Regions from separate parts of the Homo sapiens genome. Here regions 2, 3, 4 and 5 are each linked to region 1. The links are contacts of gene promoters, found by promoter capture Hi-C in blood cells and fetal thymus (Javierre and others, 2016). All regions are on one chromosome and are shown on one strand. The core of a region is centred on a gene start or on the middle of the fragment in contact, and the rest is flanking DNA. Distances in the headings are between cores, read along the strand shown. Region 1 holds the start of PUS7L (pseudouridine synthase 7 like). Region 2 overlaps PDZRN4 (PDZ domain containing ring finger 4). Region 3 overlaps CNTN1 (contactin 1). Region 4 overlaps PDZRN4 (PDZ domain containing ring finger 4). Region 5 overlaps SCAF11 (SR-related CTD associated factor 11).

Evidence for each region. The method cuts DNA at HindIII sites, captures the fragments that hold promoters and counts their contacts. A CHiCAGO score of 5 or more calls a contact.
Region 2: a contact is called between a fragment that was not itself captured here and the fragment with the promoter of PUS7L in region 1, in 1 of 17 cell types (M2 macrophages). The highest score is 6.3, in M2 macrophages.
Region 3: a contact is called between a fragment that was not itself captured here and the fragment with the promoter of PUS7L in region 1, in 1 of 17 cell types (M2 macrophages). The highest score is 7.7, in M2 macrophages.
Region 4: a fragment that was not itself captured here is called in contact with the fragment with the promoter of PUS7L in region 1 in 1 of 17 cell types (erythroblasts); the score reaches 5.6 in erythroblasts.
Region 5: a fragment that was not itself captured here is called in contact with the fragment with the promoter of PUS7L in region 1 in 1 of 17 cell types (monocytes); the score reaches 7.2 in monocytes.

What each region holds. Positions count from the first base shown.
Region 1 is chr12:43,757,389-43,760,088 of GRCh38, forward strand. It overlaps PUS7L (pseudouridine synthase 7 like), which reads right to left and starts at 1,402. Exons shown (of 9, transcript NM_031292.5): 1 at 1,342-1,402. It overlaps IRAK4 (interleukin 1 receptor associated kinase 4), which reads left to right and starts at 1,563. Exons shown (of 12, transcript NM_016123.4): 1 at 1,563-1,628. RefSeq lists enhancers at 1,090-1,139, 1,480-1,589, 2,210-2,269. The HindIII fragment of the contact is 3,611 bases long and covers 1-2,072 here.
Region 2 is chr12:41,507,107-41,509,806 of GRCh38, forward strand. The region is part of intron 4 of PDZRN4 (PDZ domain containing ring finger 4); the gene reads left to right. Among named protein-coding and RNA genes, the nearest start is that of PDZRN4-AS1, 96 kb to the left of the region's middle. The HindIII fragment of the contact is 3,456 bases long and covers 1-2,700 here.
Region 3 is chr12:40,941,134-40,943,833 of GRCh38, forward strand. CNTN1 (contactin 1) reads left to right here. Exons shown (of 24, transcript NM_001843.4): 13 at 2,464-2,591. Among named protein-coding and RNA genes, the nearest start is that of PDZRN4, 250 kb to the right of the region's middle. The HindIII fragment of the contact is 3,737 bases long and covers 1-2,700 here.
Region 4 is chr12:41,523,577-41,526,276 of GRCh38, forward strand. All of the region lies in intron 5 of PDZRN4 (PDZ domain containing ring finger 4), which reads left to right. Among named protein-coding and RNA genes, the nearest start is that of PDZRN4-AS1, 110 kb to the left of the region's middle. The HindIII fragment of the contact is 996 bases long and covers 771-1,766 here.
Region 5 is chr12:45,986,644-45,989,343 of GRCh38, forward strand. All of the region lies in intron 1 of SCAF11 (SR-related CTD associated factor 11), which reads right to left. Among named protein-coding and RNA genes, the nearest start is that of SCAF11, 2.6 kb to the right of the region's middle. RefSeq lists a silencer at 60-109. The HindIII fragment of the contact is 7,512 bases long and covers 1-2,700 here.

The DNA of each region.
Region 1 (2,700 bases), core at 152-2,651:
TCTTGAACTCCTGACCTCGTGATCCACCCGCCTCGGCCTCCCAAAGTGCTGGGGTTACAGGCGTGAGCCACCGTGCCCAGCAAGTGATTCTCTTTCACAAAACCCTATTTAATTTTCTGCATAGCAGTTCTAGGTAAAGTTTTTCTTTATTATTTATTGTATATCTCCTCCAAAGAGAATGTTAGTTCCACGTGAGGAGTAACCTTGTCTGCCTTATTTACTACTGATGATCACACATTTTGAACAGTGTCAAGCACATGGTAGGTCTGCAATAAATACTATTGTTAAATAAATGAAATAACTAGTACAAAATAAGAGCTGTAGGAATGAAGTGGAAGATAATTAGAAGAGGCATAATGCAAGAAGTGGCCATCTAAGTCCTCCATAGTTCAAGAGATAGAAATGAGGCAGAGACCTCACAAGTAATGTACAAACAAAACATGCAATGTGTGCAAGAAAAACAAGCAGTCCAGATACAGAGCAGTGGGGATGGGAATGCAGGGAGACTACAGTGCTGGAAAATGTAGCTGAGTTAGTACCAGATTATGGAAGATGTTGAATGCCCTGACAAGGACTTAGAATCTATTGGGTGGTCAATGGATGGCTACTGTTAGTGTTTGAGTAGAAAAGTGACACAATTCCAAAACATGCTTTTGGAATTGTAAGATGATTCTGATGGAAATGAGCAAGATGTATCCGATGGAGTAACAGTTAGAGGAGTTCAAAAACAAAACAGCATGGTCAAGAACATAGCTGTAGGGATTGGCCCTGAAAGAATAATGATCTTTTCTTTCTCCCAGAAAAAAGGAGGAAGACAGACATTCTAAGCAAGTGAAACAGGTAGGGAAACTTGGGGAGAATGTAATTCCAGCATCCTGGTAGAAGAGTGGAACTGACCTGGAGGACAGCAAAGGAGCCCACGTGGCGTTAAGCCTGAAGGTGCAGTATTCCCATTCAACAGAGACTGCTGCTGACAGTGGGCGGGGGAGTAGTTTGCTTGGCCCGTGGTTGAGGAATTCGTTGGCGGAGGAGGGATCCTGAGAAGGTACTAGAAATACTGAACCCAGTCCTGCAGAAGCTACTTAACTTCACAGAAAACTAGGGCGTCGTTGCCCTCCAGCACGTCCAAAGGTGTCCCCGACAAGGCCAGCAGCTCTACCTGTTTCTTCTCCCTCCTCTTACTCTGCCTGTCCAAAGGCACGACACTAGTCCACGTCACCTTTCTTTGGGCGCAAAGGGTATGGATCCTCAATGCCAACCTCGTCACCCCCCCCCCCCACACACACACACACACACACACATACAAGCCCACCATCGCGCAAGAAACTCGACCCCGTCTACCTCGGTTCAGTGGAAGGCATTCATTTGCACAACGCTGTGCGCATGCCCGGAAGCCTTAAGTGTTTCAGCCTCCGACAGGGGCGTAATTAAAGGGGCAGGCGCCCACGTAAAGACGCGCCCTACGCAATACGTGGAGTTTCTCACTTTGTGGAGCCGCCTGGAGGCGCCAAGATGAAGCCCATCGGGGAAGTGGGGCGGGGCCAACCCGGCAGGCCCCGCCCCTTCGCGGCGCTTCCTAGTTCGGCTGGTTCTTCTGTCGCCGGCTTCAGCAGCCCGCGCCCGGGCAGGTAAGGCATTCCCCGCCTTAATGCCTCGGTCAAACGTCGTCCGAGGTCCGCTTCCAGGCCTCGGCACCTCTGCCCCAGGGTTGCTGGGGTCGGCTGCGGAACGGAAATCTCTTTATCATCCGTGAGAAAAGTTAGAGAGGAAGTGGGTTCCTTTGACAGAGCTTACTCCAGAAGAAAGACTTGGGTAGGTCCCCGGTAATCAAGAAGTTCGTCGGCCCTGAGGAAGAGCCTGAGGCTTGGAGGGACGTCACCCAGCTGTTCTGGGGCGCAGTCGGACCTCAAGTTTCTCACCTCTCAGGCCCTGGATTCCGTGAACCCGACTGCGAAATGAAGTCTCTTTTCCCCAGAACCAGGAAGTCAGGCCAGCACCTGACAGATGCCTGTGGCGCCAGCAGCTCGCTGAGCCTCCACACGATTGTAATTCGCTTGTTTCTCCGGCCTCCAAGCTTCCAGGGAATTAGAAAGTGGAGGCGGCTTATGGGATCAGATGAGTACATTCGCAGATGGGGGAAAAAAGTGTACCTGTCAGCTTGGAAGCCAGAGGGAGACAAAGGGATAAAAGCAAACCCTGTCCAGGTGCGGTGGCTCATGCTTGTAATCCCAGCACTTTGGGAGGCCCAGGCGGGCGGATCGCTTGAGGTCAGGAGTTCGAGACCAGCCTGGCCAACATGGTGAAACCCCTGTCTCTACTAAGATACAAAATTTAGCTGGCATAGTGGCGGGCGCCCGTAATGCCAGCTACTCCGGGGGCTGAGGCAGGAGAATCGCTTGAACCCAGGAGGCAGAGGTTGCAGTGAGCCGAGATCGTGCCACTACACTCCAGCCTGGGCAACAGAGGGAGACTCCGTCTCAAAAGAAAAAAAAAAAAAAAAAAGCAAACCCTGAGAAAGCGAGAAAGCACTTTGAGCATTTAGAATGGGAACAAACGGCGCTATTAGTGCTTCAAAAACGTAACTGCCCAAGGCCCCTGGTAAGCAGAGGATACTAAAATCTGCCTTTTCCCTTTCTTGGAGTGGTCCTTGAAGAGGGCTATCGGGAAGTTCAAATTTCTTCTGTTTTCCTGCAGAGCGTT
Region 2 (2,700 bases), core at 27-2,526, 2.3 Mb before region 1:
CTCCTCTGTGGGCCACCTCTCTCTCTTCCTTGCATTTCTCTTCTTTAAAGAGAAGCTAGGAAATTGATTTAATTAAAGTGCAATTCTCTGACGAAAGCACTTACCCAATATATTGAGATATAAACAAAGGATCTTGGCTGTCAGAGAGTAAGTATAGTGCTATCAAATAAAGATCTATTCAAGGAATACTTCCTCCTGATTTTTGCCTAATTTAAAGGAAGTCAGAGAGATTTTATTCAAATAATCCTACTTGAACAGTTTTAAAAGTATGCTTGCCCAATTCATTGTGTTCTGTGAGCTTTCGAGCAAATATTCAAACATTGAGAGTTTGTAAGAGCAATAGTCTCCTTAGCCTGCATTTTCATCACCTACTCCAATCCGCTCTCTACTTCATAAAACAAAGATCTGAGTCATGCCACTTTCCTGCCCTTTGATGGCTGGCTCCCATAAGCCCGTTTCAGTGGGTCACAGATGTACAATAGAATCACCTGGGAACTTTCAGAAGCTGTATCAGTACCTGAATCACTCCTTAGGCCAATTAAATGAGAATTCTTAGAGTAAGGCTTAGGCATCAGAAATTTTCAAAAGTCTCCCTAGGCAATCCTAATGTGCAGCCAAGTTTTGAAAACACTTCTTGAGACTTCGAGTTCCAGGAAGGCAGGGGATCTGTTTGTCTTGGGTATCTCTTTATTTTAAATAGCCCTTTGTATCAGACACAAATTGGATGTGTCAGGGCTTGCAACTAGATGCTTGGCATAAAACTATGAACAAAAATAAAGTCACTGCCTTCTAGAGTTTATATTCTACAAGGGGAGTTGAACAAAAAGCAAGGAAACAAATATATAATATTCATTAATACAGCCTAAAACATAGTAGCCATCCAACAAATACTTCCTTGAATGAATAATAATAGCTAGCTTGTATTAGCTAACTTAACATGCTTTCAGTATTATTCCAAACGTTTTGCATTTATTGACTCATTTAGTTCTCACAATAATCTTAGGAGGGAGTACATTATATTATCAACATTCTATGTCTAAGATGAGGGAACAGATATTAAGTAACATGGCCAAGATCACATAGCAAAAAAGTGACAGGGCCAGGCTTCTAGGCCTAAGAGGTCTGACCCCAATGCCTACCCCCTTAGCCAGTGCATCTTGCTGCTCTTCCTAGGTCCTGCAGACCTTAGCTTAGAGACAACCTCCTCTAGAAAACTTCCTAGGGCTGCAGTGGGTCCACCCCTACCATGTGCTCCCAAGGCTCCTGTATTTTTCCCTTAATTATTGCACTGTATTAAAATTCCCACTTTGCTGCTTTCCCCAATTAATAGGGCAGAATTGGATTTTGTAAACCAACATATTTCCAGCACTTGGCCTTGCATCTGGCAGCCACTAAATAAACGTCGAATGAATAAAGTGTTCCTCACAGCAGGGCTCCCTTCTTACTATCCGAAAGACAAGGGAAACACATCAGATGTCCAAAGCAGCAGGCTTCGATATTCCAAGAGCCCAAAAGGGCTATGCGGACCCAGTCCAGCTATAAGCAAGGAGATTTATCTGGTAGACACAAGGCAAGGTGCTGCCTGTATTACTTTTACCATTTTGGCCTACACTAGTTAGACCTGTGTGGAGCTGACAGCCATAGATAGTAGTGAGGAGAGGCTGGTAGAATATTTACGCTGACTATAGTATGAGGGCATGAGGATGGGTCTCTTGCCTTTCAACAAGGGAGAAGGGAACTAATTGATACTGCTATCTCCAATTTTTCAAAAAGATCCACACTGGCAGGAGTTAGAGGTCTCATCTGCAACCAACTTGTCAATTGTATTTAGGCTTTTTCAGTGTCTTTTAGAAATAGAAAAGGCCTTATGCTCTTTGCTGTTAAACTATGCTTAGTCTTCATATGGTATGATGTGTAGTCTTTATATCAGAACATACTAAATCGAATAACATGTTTACAAACTATTTAAAAATTTCCTAAAAGTTGAAATACATAAAAGCCATATCCTCTCATTTCCTTAATGTAATCTGCTCTCTCTGTCACTGAGAATTTTCTAAAGGTATTTTGAAACCTTGTGGCTTATAGGAGTTTCCACTGATTGATCGCCATGAATGTTCTTTAATATTTGTGTATATGTCCTTGATCAAAGAGGGGAAAATGTGCATTATGAGGGAGAGTGAGAAAGGGGGATCTTAAGAAAGAGAGGAGGGGACAATGTGAGCACATTTTAGAGTCTGAAAAAATAAGTGCTTTTGAAAATGGTTTTCAAAAAATAGTTTGCAGCTGTGGATTATGAAATTGGTAGTACTTTATGACAAAATACCCCTCTTTGAGTAGACTGCAATCTCAAATGCCACACACCCACGTATGGAGCTTGTCACATTCAGTGGAATGGAAGCAGGCCAGAAAGTATCAATAAAGCACCACGGACTGTCAGAGATTTCACATCAGTCTTTCCACAGAATACAACTCTGACCATAGGCCCTTATTCCTAGCATTCTCTCAGAAATTGCAAATTGATGGACTTCACGTAGAGGGAGAAAGAAAAGCTATTGCTTTTCCTCAGCTGTAGTTTGTTTAAAGACTAGATCACTACAGATCTTATTCCAAAGCAGAGCAAACTAAAGTGAAATTCTAAAATCAGTTTTAATCTGGAAAACAACCCATTTAATCTATTCCTATCATATTGCTACATTCCCC
Region 3 (2,700 bases), core at 46-2,545, 2.8 Mb before region 1:
ATTTTACAAGTTTGATTGTGTTCTGATATTTTTAAAGCCTTTGAAATCAAATTGCATTATTTCCTTGATTAAAGAGTCTATAAATCTAATTTTTACTTAGTACTTTAACCCATTACTATCTCAGTGTAAATACTATTTAATAGTAGATATAGTATTCATATGCAAATATATTTGAATTGTAAAATAAGATGTATAAAAAGCTAAACATAAAAATTTTGGTGTCTATTTTGAAAAAGAATACACAAGGACTAACTAAATATTGGTCTTTAAGCATAAATATAATCTTATTCTTCTGAATATAATTATAAACAACATTTCCACGTAACTAAGTTATTTCTGTATCTGGTTAGTGCCTAAAGAGTGGTTTATATGATATTTGGAAGAAGCTATGTATCTTGATAAATAGTAATTAGGTTTTCATTTTATGATTTTATTTTTGGCTCAAATGATATATTTTCTGCAGCAGAATTTCTTTGTAATTAGCAGAATTAAGTTAGTTGCTAATTTAAATTCAATGGATTGCTATTAGCTCTAAGGTCACTTTTATTTAAACCACTTATAGGAAGGGATCTTCATTAGTCTTTTCTACTCCAGAGGTTATTCTGGAGTAATTTTGGTACCAATAAGTGACCAATTGGTTAAAGACCAGATTGTTCCTAGTTTGTTTGACAGCTGATCTATATCATAGTATCTGGAAATAAGGATAAGATCTTGAGAGTTTAGTCTATATTACTTTAAGAATAAAGAGAATTATTACAAAAAAATCAGGTTTTCTAAATATTTTTATTAAAAAGTAATTTTAATCTCAAAGGCAAAGTACCTGAAAGTATAAATGAGACGAATGACACATGGAATTATGTATACCCTTTAAAGATGGTAAAAGATCAATTGAAAACTAACATAAGTAAGCTAAAAATATTAGCATGATTTAAGAAAGAATCATCATTGTTTTTTCCACTGCTACTTCATTATAATTTTTGTTGTGCTTCTTGAAAAATAATTAAATGAAAGGGATGTGGGAACTTGGCTGAGGATTTATACTAGAGGGTAGTGAGAAAAAGTGTGACCCATTAATATTGGTACTGTGTTAATATGTGTCCTCCAAGAAGCTGAAGCCAGGAAGATTAGCTATGTAAGAAATTAATTAATGGCAATGCATGGGAGGGAAAATAGAGAGGAAGCTGGTGGAGGCTTGGAAAAGTATTTTACTGAGATACAGGTCTGATCCCAGATGAAGGACAGAGGGAAGGAAGGAAAAAAGATTGTGTTGAAATGACTTGGACTGCACTGCACTTCTAAGAGTATGGTCATGCCACTGGAAAGTCTTCCATTCAAAAATGCATATCAGAGGAGTTTGCTGTCTTCCAGGAGCAGGCCTGGTTTAAAATTCCTCCCATGGTCAGTCATTGGCTAAGAACAGCCTGTGGAATGTGTGGCTTTGAATAAACACAGTGATGGATTTCTGAGTACGGCGTCTGGGACAGAGAATAAATTACACTCCTCAGAGTTGGAGAGTGGCATATTCTCAGAGCTTCCATGATCTTAAATAATTACTTTTATCATTATATTATTTTGATACTTCATTTCTCCTTCAACAACAAAAAGTACTCTGAAATGAGCTTCAAGTCAGGACTGGATTGTTCAAGAAAGGAAAGGAAATCCTGGACTATAATGTTAGCGGAAATTTTGTTATTTTCTTATATGAAGATTTTTATCAGTAAGGTAGATAGTTTTGCTTCTTTTATCAGACTTTGCCCTTAAAATGGATATACGTTTGCATGTTTTGTGCAAACTTTCAAAGATAATTTAGTTTTGAAAATTATCTATTTAAAGAAAGTAAAAAATCCAATGACAGGCAATTCAATATTTAATCTAAGTGTGAGTTTCTATACAATAAAACTTAGTGAGTTTTTAGTGTCCATCCCCTGAGGAAGAGGCTGACAGGTAGGGAAATATGTGTAGTATGAAAGACTTAGTTTCTGTTCAAAGAAGAATTTCCTAAATATTAATTTGTTCCAGAAGTTGTTACTAAGGAGGTTTTAAAATATTTTTTAAAGTTTCTAAAAATAAAATACATTTATATTTCTCTGTAGCCATGGAAATGGCAATCTGTCCTCACCTCCTAGTCTGAATTGAAGTCCTGAGGTTACATTTCTGGGAGACCGGGGCTCATTTCTTTCAGGCCTATGACTGATTTCAGCCTGTCCCATAGTGGAAGGTCAGTTAGAAGACTACGGCAATAGTTCAAGAAAAAGATGAAAGTGGATTTCCAAAACAAAATGTCAATGATGAGAAAAAATATTATAACTAAAGGCTAGAATTTGTCATCTTACAAAAATGTCTGTGGTCGCATGATTTATATAGAATGTAATAATTGAAAAATATTAGTGTTTGTAATCTAAGACATAATAATGTATTTTACTAAATCAGGTTTGTGAATTATATATATTTTTATTTCACTAGAATACTCATTTGGGAAGATGGTAGCTTGGAAATCAACAACATTACAAGGAATGATGGAGGTATCTATACATGCTTTGCAGAAAATAACAGAGGGAAAGCTAATAGCACTGGAACCCTTGTTATCACAGGTAAGTTAATGTTTGAGGGTGCTTAATTTCTAATGTATTAAAAAACATGATTCAGCACTAAGCATCTAAACAGTCAATGTATTTGTAAGTTTCTTTTTCAAAAGAATTT
Region 4 (2,700 bases), core at 19-2,518, 2.2 Mb before region 1:
ACACAGGGGGCAACAACATGGTGCCACTGCTCTCCTGGAGTTTGTATTCAAAATGGAAAGAAGCAATAAAAATTAAGAGAAGTAAGAAAATCTCAGATGAAGATAGTGTTAGGAAGAAAATAGTGTGAAATTCCAGTATGGGACAAGTACAGACAGAATAGCCAAAGAAGGCATCTCTGAAAGCTGAAAACTGAAAGAAAGAACCACCCACACAAAGATCAAAAGGAATAATAATCTTCACCAATAACAACAACTATCCCTTGCTGGAAAGTACTAGTGTATATTGACTCATGTACTCATTTTTAAGCCACTTTATAGAGGTATGAACATATAAAATCTGTGCATGTTTAATGTGTACAGCTTGATGAGCTTGGAGAGAAGTATACACTTATGAAATCATCACCACAACCTATGCCATAAACATATTTAGTAAAGTTGCAGGATACAAAATCAACATATAAAAATTAGTTGCACTTCTGTACACTAACAAGGAACTGTCTGAAAAGGAAATTAAGAAAACAATTTCATTCACAACAGCATTAAAGATAAAATACTTAGGAATAAGTATAGCCAAGGAGGCAAATAACTTGTACCCTGAAATGCATAAAATAATATTGAAATAAATTAAAGCAGACACAGACAAATGGAAAGACATCTCATGTTCCTGGACTGGAAGAATTAATATTCTTAGAATGTCTGTACTACCCAAAAGTGATCTACAGATTCAATGCAATTCCTATCAAAATCCCAATGGCATATTAACTCATTTAAGCTTTACTACAACAGTATGAGACAGGTATTATAACTATTCCCATTTTACATATGAAAGAACTGAGGCAGAGAAAAGGTCAAGAACTGTTCATAGTGGGTTAATGGAGGAGCTGGTATTCACATTGTGGTAGCCTGGCTCCAGAGCAGATGCTCATCTACAGAAAGGGAAAGTATAGAGTTCAGAGTCCCTTAGGAAAGAAGGAGCTCAATGTACTACGCAAAGAAAAAGGCCAGAGTTGTTGGAATGGTGTTTATAGAAGACAGGGGAGAATTACAGGCCCGATAATTCAGGACCTTGCAAATCATAAGGCTTATGGATTTTATTATAAGTGAAATAAAAGGATATTAGAGGGATTTAAGAAGGAAACAGCATGATTTCTATTTTTATATTTTATTTTATTTTAATTTCTATTTTAAAAATATAACTTTGGCTGCCTTTTGGCGAATACACTGTCAAGTTTGGTAAGGACACAGAGAAAGGTGGTAAGTAAGAGGTGATTGTGTTAATTCAGGTGAGAGCAGATGGTGATTTGGTCAGTTAGTAGAAGGGAAGAGAAGCCAGTGAATATTTTTGAAACATGACAGACATTATTGCTGATTGACTAATTATGGGAATAAGGAAAACAAAGGAGTTGAAAGCAGCTTCTTCATTTTTGAAGTTGAGCTATTAGATAGCTATTTCCTAAAAGGAGGAAAACTGAGGGAGGGAAAGTGTGGTGTGGGGAATTAGGAGGCAAAAATCAGGAGTTTTAGGGCACATTGGGTTTCAGAGACCTCTTAGACATGCATATAAAGATGCTGAGTGGGCCGCTATTGCAATACAGCACTCAGGGAGATACCAGGCCTGGATGAGAGAGTCCCAGGGGAGAGAAAAAGGCCAAAGACAGACTTTCAAAATTTTATTACCAACAAACTAGAGGTCTAATTGTATCGCTTATTTGAGGAGGAATTATATTTCACTATTTCTGGAATCAGCCTGAAGTGAACTCAAATCAAGCTTCACTGCTTAGTACTTGTGAGACGTCTCTGACACTCAGGTTCTTTACCTGTGAAAAGATAATATTAATAATACATACTTCATAGGATTATATGAGATAATATATAAGAACATGTAATATCATGGCTGACACATATGTGAAATATATGTAAATATATATGTATGTATATATAAACTCATAGTGTAAGTATATGCCACATATACACATATGAAACCATATAAATGATGGAATATAGATATGTAAGATAGATATAGGTATAGACAGATCTACGTAGATTTGTTATATATCTCTATTCCATCATTTAACCATTGTAAGTCTCAATTTCATCACCTATAGTAGAGAATATTTATGAAGAAAGGAAAAAATGGAAAAGAAACTCCATACCTTGTGGATGATAGGGTCCGAGTACAAGCACTTGAAACATGATTCAGAGCCATGCACAAGGAAGAATGCTCTGAGAAACATAGTAGGTCTGAATATATTCAAGTGTCCTTCATCAAAAAAAAAAATTCAAATTAAGCCCATTTGTATATTTGACTTTCATATTCTCTATTGTCCCTTTTCCCAAACATCGTAAAATAGTACTTTGATTCTCTGCCATTTTTAAAAAATCTCATTTATTTCTCAACCCATTGAAATCTGATTTGAGGATGATGAGAAATAGTTGAAAGACCAAATCCAGTCCTACCTTCCACTACCTTATAATCTCAACAACACCTGGTGTACTTGGCCATTGCATGTTCCTGAGAGGCTCTTTCTCCTTTGCCTCCATAATACCACACTGCCCTTCCTTCCAATTCTAGGACAGCTCTATCTGGACTAAAGCTAGTTTCCTGTATCTAAATGTGGGGCTACTAAAACCATATGTCTTAGAGCTATGGGGAGGCTTAAGAGAGCTGACCTGTGGCTCTTGGCATTCTGAGCTGGCAGG
Region 5 (2,700 bases), core at 107-2,606, 2.2 Mb after region 1:
CCCACCCAAATCTCTCTTGAATTGTATTCCCATAATTCCCACGTGTTGTGGGAGCAACCTGTTGGGAGATAATTTGAATCATGGGGGCAGTTTCCCCCATACTGTTCTCATGGTAGTGAACAAGTCTCACAAGATCTGATGGTTTTAACAGATGTTTCCGCTTTTGCATCTTCCTCATTTTCTCTTGCCACCAACCACTATGTAAGAAGTGCCCTTCTCCTCCCACCAAGATTCTGAGGCCTCCCTAGCCATGTGGAACTGTAAGTCCAATTATACCTCTTTTTCTTCCCAGTCTCAGGTATGTCAGCAGCATGAAATCAGGCTAATGCACTGCTCTACTCTTAGCTGAGGCATTCTTAGCTCCTTCTATATTAAGACAAATGATAGTTTCAAGGTCACATACTGTTATACTCCTCTAAAAACACAGACCCCTTAGGCTGGGTGTGGTGGTTCATTCCTGTAATCCCAGCACTTTGGGAGGCCAAGGCGGGATGATTACTTAGCCCAGGAATTTGAGACCAGCCTGGGCACCAAAGTGAGAGCTGTGATCACACCACTGCGCTCCAGCCTGGGAGACAGCGAGATGCTATCTGAAAGCAAAAACAAAACAAACAACAACAAAAAACAAGGACCCCTGAAATGAACATGGCCCACATGCATGGATATAAGTAACTTGGCAGTTTATGCTACAGACTGAGACTTGCTTAGTCTAAAGTTTCAAACCACAATCACTATTTGTAACGTTTACAGCTGAAAGCAGGTTAATTCATTAACTTACACTGAAGGCATTGTTCAGGTGTTTAGGTGACAAATACTGACAAATGCTGATCTCACAGAAGATAAATCACAGTGAAGAAAATAAACAATAAACCTAAGTTAGATTACACAATATGTTGCAAAATGATAAATGCAATGGAGAAAAATCTAGCATAAAAACAGATACAAAATATCGGGGGAAGGCTGTTGTTTTATACACAGTAGTTAGAGAAGACCACAACAGCGTAGGGGAAAGGAGATTGGAGAAAGGGTGAGGAGATGAAGTCAGAGAGGAAGAAGAGACTTAAATCATAGAGCCTTGTAGACCATAGGAGTATGGAATTTACTATGACTGAGAAGGGAAGCCATTTGAGAAAAGAAGTTACATGACCTGACATTTTATCAGGATCACTCTGGCTATGGAGTGTTAAAGACTGTAGATCAGCAAAGGTCACAGTGACTTTTTAGGAAGATATTTTTGAAAGCAAAATAGTGGTTGTGTTTTTACGTTATGTATTGAATTTTTATGTGTCTATGTACTAGGATTTCATACATTAAGTTCATAGACACAACTTAAAAAAATACAATGCAAAGATGAGTTTTGGGAATAGCAAGAGAATGATACTGGATATTTTAACTCTGGGCTCTACTCAGCACTACTAACAGTTATTACTGCTCAGAAGCAAGACAAGGTGCAAGGTTATTAACTTATTTTGGGGGACAGAGTATAATTAAAAATCTGGATTTTAAGTTTATTTCACTGGGCAAGGTAAGTCAAGGTACAATTTACATCTTAAAAGACAAAAGCAGGTGATAGCAGGGCTTGCTAAAGGGAAGTTACAATGAAAATTATTCTACAGTTGACTTTCTTTTTATTACTTTTATGCCTGCTACTCTCTTTAATTAAGGTGCTACAACTATCTCTGATATACTTTAAAAGTTCAGTATTAAGTTGATGGGTAGTATAGTACTGTATTTTCTGATTACTAAAAGATGTTACTGATGATGAATCAACAGTATCATGTAACTGCACTGATTCATCCTATCTCTGCTGAATAAAAGCACAGGTTTTCCAGAAAACTGTCTAAGCTCTAGTTGGTGCCAAAGGACGATAGAGAGCTAAGTAACTCCTGAAAAGTTTCGATCTTAACACACTAGCCCTATTACCACATGAAGGTATTAACAGAAAAAATTAAAAAATTATCCGTAAAATTTTCTCCATGACATGTTTTCTGGCAACATATTTAGAAACTTTAAATTTTCTTCTACAGTTTTCTTCCCCTTTATACTGAAGAATGTCTTTAAAGCATGAGTATACTTACAGTAAGCAAACATTCAAATTTTACCCCAGTGAAATCTTAAAATGTACTCAAACTCTCAGGCAAAAAGTTCACTATCTGAATGTGAAAAACTGAATGACTGTTAAAATATCTGCAAGCACCAAAAAATATTATAGCTAAAATGCAGCTACCCTAAGAACTGTTTTTAAAAAACTCACATTGCATAAAAAATATAAATTCAGATTATCCGATAGGATAATATAAAACAAAAGAAATCCAAAGACAGTTTCAAGATTTCATTTCTCTTGCTTAGTTAAAACAACAAAAACAAAAGGCCCATGAACTTTTTCTTGCATCTTTTAACCAAAATAGTGACATGATCAAGCCAACTGCCAAAGAAACAGGAAAGAGAAAGCAATTGTTTAGAAACAGACTTGATTACATGTCAAAATTTTAATACAATTACTAATAAAATACAAAAACCAACCGTTATTTTAAAATGTACTGCCCTGATATTCTGCTGCTGAGGTAGGTGGTGATATGTAGAAATTAATTTTTCTTTTAAAACGAAAAAATAATGCATTTATTAATATGCTTTTCCCAAAATTCGGGGAAAATTCCCAAATCGGAGAAAAAAATTTAACATCAGCATCTACTACACAAA